Regions from separate parts of the Homo sapiens genome. Here all the other regions are linked to region 3. Evidence: promoter capture Hi-C in human tissues and cell types (Jung and others, 2019). All regions are on one chromosome and are shown on one strand. Each heading gives the region's core, a stretch centred on a gene start or on the middle of the fragment in contact. The rest is flanking DNA. Distances are from core to core; before and after follow the strand shown.

The links. The method cuts DNA at HindIII sites, captures the fragments that hold promoters and counts their contacts. A contact is called where the count stands out against the background at its distance.
Region 1: a fragment that was not itself captured here is called in contact with the fragment with the promoter of TRAIP in region 3 in 2 of the 25 tissues and cell types used here (dorsolateral prefrontal cortex and thymus).
Region 2: the fragment with the promoter of SEMA3F here is called in contact with the fragment with the promoter of TRAIP in region 3 in 2 of the 25 tissues and cell types used here (H1 embryonic stem cells and lymphoblastoid cells).

The regions. Positions count from the first base shown.
Region 1 is chr3:50,116,825-50,120,501 of GRCh38, forward strand. RBM5 (RNA binding motif protein 5) reads left to right here. Exons shown (of 25, transcript NM_005778.4): 23 at 250-347; 24 at 426-555; 25 at 1,507-2,197. The coding sequence ends at 1,632. It overlaps SEMA3F-AS1 (SEMA3F antisense RNA 1), which reads right to left. Exons shown (of 4, transcript NR_135301.1): 4 at 1-1,424. Among named protein-coding and RNA genes, the nearest start is that of RBM5-AS1, 18 kb to the left of the region's middle. RefSeq lists an enhancer at 3,474-3,677. The HindIII fragment of the contact is 8,641 bases long and covers 1-3,677 here.
Region 2 is chr3:50,154,070-50,157,506 of GRCh38, forward strand. It overlaps SEMA3F (semaphorin 3F), which reads left to right and starts at 1,255. Exons shown (of 19, transcript NM_004186.5): 1 at 1,255-1,495. It overlaps LOC124909484 (basic proline-rich protein-like), which reads left to right and starts at 601. Exons shown (of 2, transcript XM_047449434.1): 1 at 601-627; 2 at 992-1,720. The coding sequence starts at 601. The coding sequence ends at 1,720. SEMA3F-AS1 (SEMA3F antisense RNA 1) reads right to left here and starts at 2,016. Exons shown (of 4, transcript NR_135301.1): 1 at 1,665-2,016. RefSeq lists silencers at 530-589, 600-739, 770-1,239. The HindIII fragment of the contact is 29,271 bases long and covers 1-3,437 here.
Region 3 is chr3:49,854,505-49,857,955 of GRCh38, forward strand. It overlaps TRAIP (TRAF interacting protein), which reads right to left and starts at 2,060. Exons shown (of 15, transcript NM_005879.3): 1 at 1,852-2,060. The coding sequence starts at 1,949. The HindIII fragment of the contact is 12,385 bases long and covers 1-3,451 here.

The DNA of each region.
Region 1 (3,677 bases), core at 354-2,853, 260 kb after region 3:
TTAAATAAAACTGCTTGTTGGAGACATAGTTCTGCCCCTGGTTCCACACAATTCATATTTACAAATTTAACATTTCAGATATGACTAGGTATGATGATGGGAACAAGGGAATTTGGTATTTCAGAGCAGTCTAAAAAAAGCATTCTTCAGATTTAAAAATACTTGAGGGGATAGTTTTGAATAGGTGCATTAGACGGTTACAGGTTGAAGTCTGTGAACATTTCCAGCAGTGTTTTTTCTCCCATGTAGATGAAATACCGAGACCGAGCTGCAGAAAGACGGGAGAAGTACGGCATTCCAGAACCTCCAGAGCCCAAGCGCAAGAAGCAGTTTGATGCCGGCACTGTGTATGTGATGTGCACATTTTCCAGTTCGTAAGCTGGGGCCCTGGCTGTTTTAAGTAACTGTGTGTTTGCCACTGGCAGGAATTACGAGCAACCCACCAAAGATGGCATTGACCACAGTAACATTGGCAACAAGATGCTGCAGGCCATGGGCTGGCGGGAAGGCTCTGGCTTGGGACGAAAGTGTCAAGGCATTACGGCTCCCATTGAGGTAAGCAGTGGGGTCAGGTCTTGATGTTTGCCAGGCTTACAGGCCGGTTCCAGAGATGAGATCAGAGCACTCATAGAGCCTGGGAGCCAGGAGCAGCTTTACCTTAGCATGAAGGGGCAGATTACAGGCATGAGCTCACACCTGTAATCCCAGCACTTTGGGAGGCCGAGGAGGGTGGATTGCCTGAGCCCAGAAGTTTGAGACCAGCCTGGGCAACACGGTGAAACCCCGTCTCTACTAAAATACAAAATATTAACTGGACGTGGCAGCGTGTGCCTGTAATCCCAGCTAGTCAGGAAGCTGAGGCAGGAGAATTGCTAGAACCTGGCAGGAGGAGGTTGCAGTGAGCCGAGATCACGCCACTGCACTCCAGCCTGGGCAACAGCGACTCTGTCTCAAAAAAAAAAAAAATTTAGTAGGGTTTTCACCCATGATAAGAAATCTTTAAATTGATCAGAGCCCACATTGAGGCATCATATCCCAGGATCGGAGGCCCCTACCCACTGGCCTTCTAGGCAGGAGCTCCACCCGTAATTGCCCCTGCTCTGTCCTGGGAGCACAGCTTAGGTCAGACTCTTGTAGACCATGTTCATCCTGTTTATGTGAGTTCTGCTGACATTGAGCTATCCTGTATAATGTGTGCCTGTAATTACCATACCTTTCCCAGACCTTCAGAGGAATACTTTGGGGCCCTTTCCTAGGCGTGGATGCTTGCTGAGCAGGCATTGAGGGGTGGGTGATTTGCTTCATCTGCCTGTGTTCCGTAGCCCATTTTATTCCTCCAGTCCTTATACTTGCTCCTGGTCTCTTCTGGAGAAATCCTTGTCTTCATATACAGTTTTCTCTCTTCTGTCTCCTGGTGGGTGGTCCTGCTGGGTAAGGAGTGGGCATGGTGAGAGGTGGAGCAGCCCATACCCTACCTCCCAGCTGACAGTCTCTGTGCTTTCCCAGGCTCAAGTTCGGCTAAAGGGAGCTGGCCTAGGAGCCAAAGGCAGCGCATATGGTTTGTCGGGCGCCGATTCCTACAAAGATGCTGTCCGGAAAGCCATGTTTGCCCGGTTCACTGAGATGGAGTGAGAGAGAGAGAGAGAGAGAGATGACAAGGAGCACAAGAAGTGGTCCATCTCCCGAATTCGCTGTTACCGCCTGTCTCTTTAAGGGCATGCCTTGTGCTGTTAATAGATCTTAGGGTGAACCACTTCATTCTGCAGGGTTCTCCCTCCCACCTTAAAGAAGTTCCCCTTATGTGGGTTGCCTGGTGAATGGCCTTCCTTCCCGCCAGAGGGCTTGTGAACAGACCGGAGAGGACAGTGGATTGTTTATACTCCAGTGTACATAGTGTAATGTAGCGTGTTTACATGTGTAGCCTATGTTGTGGTCCATCAGCCCCTCACATTCCTAGGGGTTTGAGATGCTGTAGGTGGTATGTGACACCAAAGCCACCTCTGTCATTTGTTGTGATGTCTTTTCTTGGCAAAAGCCTTGTGTATATTTGTATATTACACATTTGTACAGAATTTTGGAAGATTTTCAGTCTAGTTGCCAAATCTGGCTCCTTTACAAAAGAAATACCTTGAGAAATGGGTGTCCTGTGTCTCTTTATTCTTGGGTGGGTAGGTGGGTCAAGCATGTCTGAGCCAGTCAAGCCTGGTGATGAAATCAGTTTATTTCTTGCCCCCATCACCACGTTCTGATTGATTGATTGATTGATTTTGAGGCAGGGTTGGCCAGGCGTGGTGGCTCACACCTGTAATCCCAACACTTTGGGAGGCCGAGGCAGGTGGATTGCCTGAGGTCAGGAGTTTGAGACCAGTCTGGCCAACATGGTGAAACCCTGTCTCTACCAAAAATACAAAAAAATTAGCCAGACGTGGTGGTGTGCACCTGTAATCCCAGCTACTCGGGAGCCTGCAGCCTCGACCTCCCGGGCTCACGCGATTCTCCCACTTTAGTGTTCCAAGTAGCTGGGACTACAAGCACATACCACCATGCAGGCTAATTTTTTAATTTTTTACAGAGATGGGGCCTCACTCTGTTGCCCAGGCTGGTCTTGACATGTTCGGATTTTTAAATTCAAGAGTTTAACATGTTTTAGCCGGGCGTGGTGGCTCACGCCTGTAATCCCAGCACTTTGGGAGGCCGAGGCAGGCGGATCACCTGGCGTTGGGAGTTCAAGACCACCCTGACCAACATGGAGAAACCCGTCTCTACTAAAAATACAAAATTAGCTGGGTGTGGTTGGCCTGTAATCCCAGCTGCTCGGGAGGCTGAGGCAGGAGAATTGCTTGAACCCAGGAGGCGGAGTTTGCAGTGAGCCGGAGGTCGCGCCATTGCACTCTAGCCTGGGCAACCAGAGCAAAACTCCGTTTCAAAAAAAAAAAAAAAAAAAGTTTAGCATGTTTTAAAACTCTTCATGGAAATCATGGTAACTTAGTAGCTTTTCTGCTAAGACCAAAGTGACCATGAGTGCTTGCACCTCTCTAGTTTCCACAGACTTTATTCCACACATGCCGGAGTGTGGAGTTGTCACTGCTCTGCAGGGCAGATCCTCCCTGCTTTTGGCCATGATACAGGTGATACCTGGTCCACCCTCTGCTGCGATGGAGAAACTGAGGAGGTCATCTCCCCCTGGCAGCACTCCACTCACTGCATCTTCTCAGCTGCTAAGGAGGTCCTGGGGGCATTGGAGAGTTTTCTGTTTTGAATGGGTATTTCGTCCTCAGCACTCTTCCACAGGGCAGAGAACATCATTTTGACCCAGAAGACCATGCCTGACCAGGTCAGGAAGTATACCTGGATCTCAGGCTGTTCTTGGGACCAGATGATGTGATGGGTTGCTCACATTGCCAATCTGGCCAAACTGAGTGCTTAAGCTCCACAGATTGGGCATGCAGTTAAGGTGGCCTTTTCTCTGCAGTTTACTTTTGAAGCTAGACTTGCTTTTGTGGGTGGTCACGTTTTCCTCTTTTCGGGCAGGGCGTTAAGGAATAGAAAATGCTCAGGAGGTCCTCACCCTGGCCTGTAGGGTAGTGCCTTGGAGAAGCTGAGCCTAATCACAGCTCTGGCTAGGGAGAGGTGGACGCAAATGCAGAAGCCCCAAGCCTGGGTTTCTGCAGAGTAAG
Region 2 (3,437 bases), core at 5-2,504, 300 kb after region 3:
GGGAGAAGGAAGGAGAGGCAGAGGGAGAAGAGGAGAAAGGAAAGAGGAGAAAGAGGAGGGCACAGAAGACAGAACAGGAAGAGGATGAAGGAGAGGACAAAGGGCCAACGCCCCTGGGAGCCTCCGCAGGGTGCCCGGGGCAGGGCTGAGAAGTGGTCCTGGTGGTGAGGCCATGACCTTGGAAAGTTGGGTTGGGCAGAGGGTCCCTTCCTGGGGTCACGGTAGGCCCTTCTCAGTTGCTGAGCCATTGGCTCATCACCAGGCCATTTGAAAGCAAATGTCCCCTTGAGGAGAGAAGGTGCTAGCTGATCTGGCCTCTCTAAGGTATGGAACTATAAGGAGAGTCTGTGGGAGCTGCTGGCCTGAAATAAGGGCTGGCGATTGAGGCGATCACGGGGAGTCGTTGAATGGCTGGAGAGAGCTGTGTGGCTGGGCTGCCCCCGACCTGGCCTAGGCTGGAGGCTGAGCCCGCGGGAAGGTCCGGCGGTGCCAGCCGTCCCAGGGGCTGCACCGCCACCTGCTGAGCAGCCCGGGCAGTCAGGGGTCCTGCGCCGCGGGGCCCACGCACGGGACCAGGGGCACGGCCGGCGGCGAGTGGGAATGAGGGACGCGGAAGGGGGTGCTCAGGTGAGCGCAGGCTCGTTGCTCCCTGGCGCTGCAGCCCTTCTCGCCAGGGAGTTGAATGCCCGGGTAAACACCAGGCGCGATGTGTGCGGTGTATTCACAGAGAGACAAAGCCAGGGCGGGGCGGGGGCGCCGCCCGCGAAGCGGGGGCGGGGGCGAGGGGTGCAGACTAGTCTCCCCCGGCGCGGGGTGCCCACCGCCTGGGAACCCTGAGCCCGGCCCACGGACAGGTGGAGCGGGGGCGGGGCGGTGGCTGGGCGGGTCCCGCCCCGGGGGTGGGGCTGGGCGGGCCGGGCGGGGCGGGGCTGCGCTATGCAAATGTCGCCCACGGGCGGCCAATTGCCGGCGCTCCCCGCGCGGCTCTGAGCGCCCCGTCCCGCCGGCGGCCGCGAGACCAGAGCGAGCGAACGAACCGCGGCGGTCCGGAGAGCCCCGAGCGCAGCGCAGGACCTGGGTACGCCGCGAGGAACCGTGCAGCCCAGCGCGGCCGCCCGGCCCGGGTCCAGCAGCCAGGAGAGCGCAGCGCTTCGAAGCCGAGTGCGCGCCACCGCCCGCGCCCCGCGCTGGGGAATGCGCCCTCGGCGCGCCGGCCAGGGGGCGCCCGCAGCCCACCCCAGGGGAGGCGGCCCCGAGCGCCCCTGAGCCTTCCCATGGCCCGGGCTGGGGCCCGGGCCCTCGGCTGCTGACGCGCCCGAAGCCCGCGGAACCGGTTAAGCCGCGGCCGCGGCGCCGATCCCGGCTGAGGCGCAGCGGCGAGAGGTCGCGGGCAGGGCCATGGCCCCGGGGGGCCGCTAGCGCGGACCGGCCCAACGGGAGCCGCTCCGTGCCGCCGCCGCCGCCCGGGCGCCCAGGCCCCGCCGCTGCGGAAGAGGTGAGTGCAGCGGGAACCGGGAGGGAGCGGGCAGGCGGCCGGGCCACCCCGCGACCCCTCTGGGACCCGCGGCACTGCAACTCCGCAGAAGTGTCCGGGGAGCGGGTCTCGTCGAGCCGGGGGGCTGCCCGCGGACATAGGGGCAACAAGGCTGGGGTGGGATTCTTACCTGTCCTGGAGGCCCGGACCCCTTACCTACGGGGCGGCGTATGGATGTGTGGATGATGTGGCCTGCGGGGTCACCCATGTGCAAAGCAACTTTTTCCTGCAAGGTTCTGGGTGGGTGCTCTCATACACCCCCACCTTCACGCTTCTGGAGCGGGAGTTCCGATCCCCCTTCTGCCTCAGCTCTCTCTCCCATTAACGCCCGAGGCAGCGCTCTTCCCCGTAGATGCGCTTGCCCTACCTCAGTGTCTCTACTTGAGGACTGGCCAGCCCGAAGGGAAGCGGTATACTGGCAGTCCCCACGTGGGGGGTCTCCCACATCAGCAGAGTGGGAGGACCTCCAGTCCTGAGGCATTTCTCCCAGCATTGTGCCAGCCCCTTGACCCCCAGCTGCCACCTTGGGTTTGCTTTTACAGCAGAGTCCTGCCTGGATTAGGGGCACGGCTGTATGTAGTGTGTAGGTGAGCTTGGAGAGCCTGCGGTCAATCCCTAGTTTGAACCAGGGGTCCCAGTGGTGAAGTGGGCAGGGGACAGCGGGGGCTTGGCGGGGTTGCCCCCAGCAGATGGGACAGGAGGGTATCAAAGTTGGCCTAGGAATGAGGCAGTGCTGGCGGGAGTTGGCTGGAGCTGGGGCTGGGGGCCCCACTGGATAAATAACTCCTAATTTTTGAGATAGCTGTGTTTTGCCACCAGAACATTACTGCTTGGGAGAGGTAAGGGAGACGCCAACCAAAGACACCAGTATGTCCACCCTGAAGCTGGGCCAGGTTGGGGACCTCTGTCCTCCTGAATTCACCCAGATAGTCTCCCAGTAGTTATCCTAGTTGCAGAGAAGGGAAAACTGCACCCAGGGGTTGGGAGCCCCATCTCAGCCCAGGGAGTTGGATGGAGCTGAGGCCTCTTCCCAGGCTACCCAAGGGGTGTGCCAGGACCCCGTAGGGTATAGTGTCTAGGCAGGCGGGGGGCACAGGCATGCCTACTCCTGCTGCTCCCCCTTCAGCTCCGAAGGAGCCAGGCCCGGAAGTGGGGAGGTGGGGGCCGGAGAGAAAGCAGGGGCCAGAGAGAAGGCGGCAGCCCACCCAGCCTCAGCCCCTCGCTGCTCAGCATACCTTGGGGGGAGGATGGAGCCAGGCTCAGGTGACCTTGACTGGGAAACCCTGGCCACAAAAGGGGGGTTTCAGTCCCAGCTATGCTGGGGTGGCTCTGCTTCCTGGTCCTTGAGGTGTTGGGGGATGGGGAAGCTGAGGAGCCAAGAAGGAGACAGAGCTCTTGTTGAAGTGGGGGAGGGAATCTGAGGGGCTGGGTAGCGGGTGGGGTGCTGTTGATAATCTCCCCATGTTCCCCTACGGCCCCTGTTCCTGCCTCCCTTCCATCCAGGCAGTCCTCAGCTCGGAGGAGCCAACCTCCCTTCCTGGAGACAGGCTGTCCACCCCCACCCCCAACTCCAAGCCTGGGCGGTCTGGATCCGGCTGTACAGTTTGGCCACCTGGCCCCCTGTCCCATCCCAGGTGCCTCCGGACTCCTTCCTCTGGCCGCCTCTTCCCTGCACCCCTTGCCAGCCCCGGCTCCTCGTTTCTTTGTTCAAGCGTCTCTCCTCCGTCCCTCCCTCTCTCCTCCCTCTCTCCTCCTCCCTCCCGCCTGCCTCCCTCCCTTGCTCCCTCCCACCAGCCTTCCTTCCCTCCTTCTCTGCTTTCTTCCTGGTGGGCTCCCAGGTGGCGGTGGCTGTTCTTCCTCTGTCCACTGACCTGGGCTTGGTGTGACTTGGGGGCTTTTCTGG
Region 3 (3,451 bases), core at 810-3,309:
AACCACTTATAAATGGAAATGGGGTATATAACGACCCAACTAACTGAGGGAAAAATGGAGAAATACAGAATATTTAACCAATTCCTACCAAGGCAAGAAAGGAGACAATAAGATATAATAGGCAAGGCAAAACAGAATCGACTAAAGACAATATGTTTACTCTTTATTTAATCAGTAATTGCAACAATTTTAAGTAGACTAAATGGTCCAGTTAAATACAAAGATTATCAGACTGGATTTTTAAAAGTCCAACTAAATGTTGTTTTCCAAGGCTGGGTGCGGTGGTTCACACCTGTAATCCTAGCACTTTGGGAGGCAGAGGTGGGTGGATTACTTGAGTCCAGGGGTTCAAGACCAGCCTGGGCAACATAGCAAGACCCCATCTCTACTAAAAATACAAAAAAAAAAAAATAGTCAAGCATGGTGGCAGGCGCCTGTAGTCCCAGCTACTTGGGAGGCTAAGATGGGAGAATCACCTTAGCCCAGGAGGTAGAGGCTGCAGTGAGCCGAGATGGCACCACTGCACTGCAGCCTGTGTAACAGAGTGAGACCCTGTCTCAAAATAAAATAAAATAAAGATCTTTGCAGTAAGCTAAAGTACTTTTTAATATACAAAAAAAGAAATAAATGCTGTTTCAAGGGATACATGTAAAACACAAGGACACAGAAAAGTTTAAAGTAAAAGGATAGGCCCTAGCACTTTGAGAGGCCAAGGTGGGTGGATCACCTGAAGTCAGGAGTTCGAGACCAGCCTGGCCAACATGGAGAAACCCTGTCTATGAAAAACACAAAAATTAGCTGGGCGTGGTGGCGCACGCCTGTAATGTCAGCTACTTGGGAGGCTGAGGAAGGAGAATCACTTGAACTCAGGAGGTGGAGGTTGCAGTGAGCCGAGATCACGCCACTGCACTCCAGCCTACACGACAGGAGCGAGACTCCATCTCAAAAATAAAATAAAATAAAAATAAATAAATAAAGTAAAAGGATAGAAGAAAATAGAGTAGGCAAACAGAAAATAGAGTACGCTTAGAGGCGAGCTTAATTTCTAGTCTAACCAAACAGCAGTGGCTCCCTCAGCATGGGGCTCAGGCTGTCAGCAACACAGGCCTAAACAAAGCTTTGCAAGTAAGCCAGCAGCCATCAGTGTCATGCCTGCCTTTCTGCTTCCTAGGGCCTTTAGCCCCACAAGACCCTGTGATTATTATCACCCACCATTCCCAGGGGTAACGCTGCCTTATCTCTTTTGCTAGGAGGTCCAAACCGGCCTGTCCACATCTGCTAGGGGAATCTTTCCCCACTAGCTGTACACTCAACAGAATGGCCCTACACGGTCAGCAGGACCCCTGGATAGGGGAGCATCTCCTTGCCTTCCCCATGTTAAACGGGTTTGCTGACATGGCGAATACATTGGGGTGTCTGGACAGTGAGATGACTCTGGGTAGAATAATTCCAAACCATCAAGTAAGGCACAGCAAACTCTCTTGGGTAGCCAGAAGCCTAGCAGGTTTCTATCTGGAAGAAATAAAAGGACTTGTTGATGTGGTGAAAGCTCACCCTTGCCCAGGCTAACGGTTTTGAAATCACATCTGTTTGTATAGGTGATCAAGGAAGCATCTATCTTCACTGAGCCATCTTAGTCCCCCTCAGGCTTAGCTCAGCTATCACCTCTACCAGAAAGCCTGTCCTGACCCACTTCTGCCCAGGTTGGGAAGCTCCCGTGGGGCCTCGTCTAGGAGGAAGGTTCTCATCACTTGTCTGGATTCCGGGGTTGGACCGCCTGGAGGCCCAACACCTCAAGGCCCTGAAGCGGTACCCGGGCAAACACCGGGCCCCAACACTGCAGTCACTCACCACTGCAAGTGGAAGGTGTGGCCGCAGTGGATGGCGGCCACGTCGCGGGAGTGATCGAAGAAGTCGGAGCAGATAGTGCACAGAGCACGGATAGGCATGATGGCTGGACTCAAGGGGCCCAGGCAGCCAAAGAAACTGCTACAGGTCCGGCTTCGTAGACGCGCCCCCGCGCCTCCGCTTGCTTCAAATTTGGCTCCGCAGCACGACTTCCTGGAGCGGGCCGGAAGTGACAACACAAAACTTTGGGCGGAGCGTGAATACTTCGCCTGGATTGGACAAATTCTCGGATGGGCGGAACTATGGGCGGGGCTTAGCGGCCCCGAGGCCGTAGAGAATCCTGGGCGGAGCGCGGTCGCTCTCAGGCGTCCTCTGGGGAGACTCGACCTGCCACTTGAGAGCGCAGCATTATATCAAGGCGGGGAGCAGCGAGGCTGCCAGCTGGACCCTTTTCCAGGGCAAGGCAGCGCATTGTGGTCCCATGCCAGAGCTGGCGCGAGGCAGGCTGGGCCAAGGCAGAGAAAACCGCAGCCGCAAGGGAATAGAACAATGGTCCCGATGGGTCCCTTGGGCTCTGGACAGTGATGGACCATGCGCTATGGTCTGTAGTTCCCATAGACCACAATACCCTACCCTCTCAGTCCTCAGTTCCGGGCGATTCTAGAAAGATGGACACATAGGCCCCAGTCCCTCAGGTCACCCCAGGCCAACCTTGGCTTCATCCAAGTAAGATATGACTATCCTTGAGTTTGGAGACACTAGGGCCAGTACCCTGACTTTAGCTCTTAGCTCTCAGGAGGATCAGTTATGCTTGAGACTGTAGTAGGGTTGGAATTTTGGAGGCCCAGATGCTTCAAAGACTAGAGACTAACAAATCCTTTTTATTATTCCCACATCAGAGAAGTTATCTTTGAGGAGGTTATCTTTGAGGTCCTCCCAGAGAGCAGCATCCCTGGTGAGTTCACCCAGGCCCACCTGGGCTGGAGTAAGTCAACTTTTGGGTTTTTAGGCTTAGTATCTGTGGCAGTGTTACTCCCTCTACCCAGAAGAAACCCTGTGCATAGTCCCATAATATAAAGCTGATCTGCTCCAGCTGAAATAGACCCAGAGTGAGATTTCATTTGGGGCATAGGTGGAAAGCACAGGTGTTCACAGAAAGAAGGAATCAACACAGAGCAGCATAGAATCTTTGTGCATTGCTCACCCTACACCCTCTCCCTAGCTCAGGGAAGCTATCTTTGGCTATGAGCAGGGTCTGTCCTTGCGGTGGCTGGCCCAGGTAGATTCCAGCTCTATGCCTAAATCAAGAGTAAGGCTCCTCGGTCAACAGGAGTCAAAAACAGCAGCCCTTACTTGAGCTCTCAGCCCAGGGAGTATTCCTTGGTCCAAATGCAGCCCAAGACCCACTACTCACATGGATTTCTAGAGTTCAGAGGACCCCCACCACCACCACCATTGAGGAATACACTGTGGTGAGGATGATCTTCACCCTCAGCCCAAGAAATCCACAGGGCACTGTTCACTACTACTCCCAGCCACTACTTGTGAACCTGCTCCCAGCCTCTCCCTTCCCCACTGCCTTCCAGGGGCTCCTCCCCAGTAG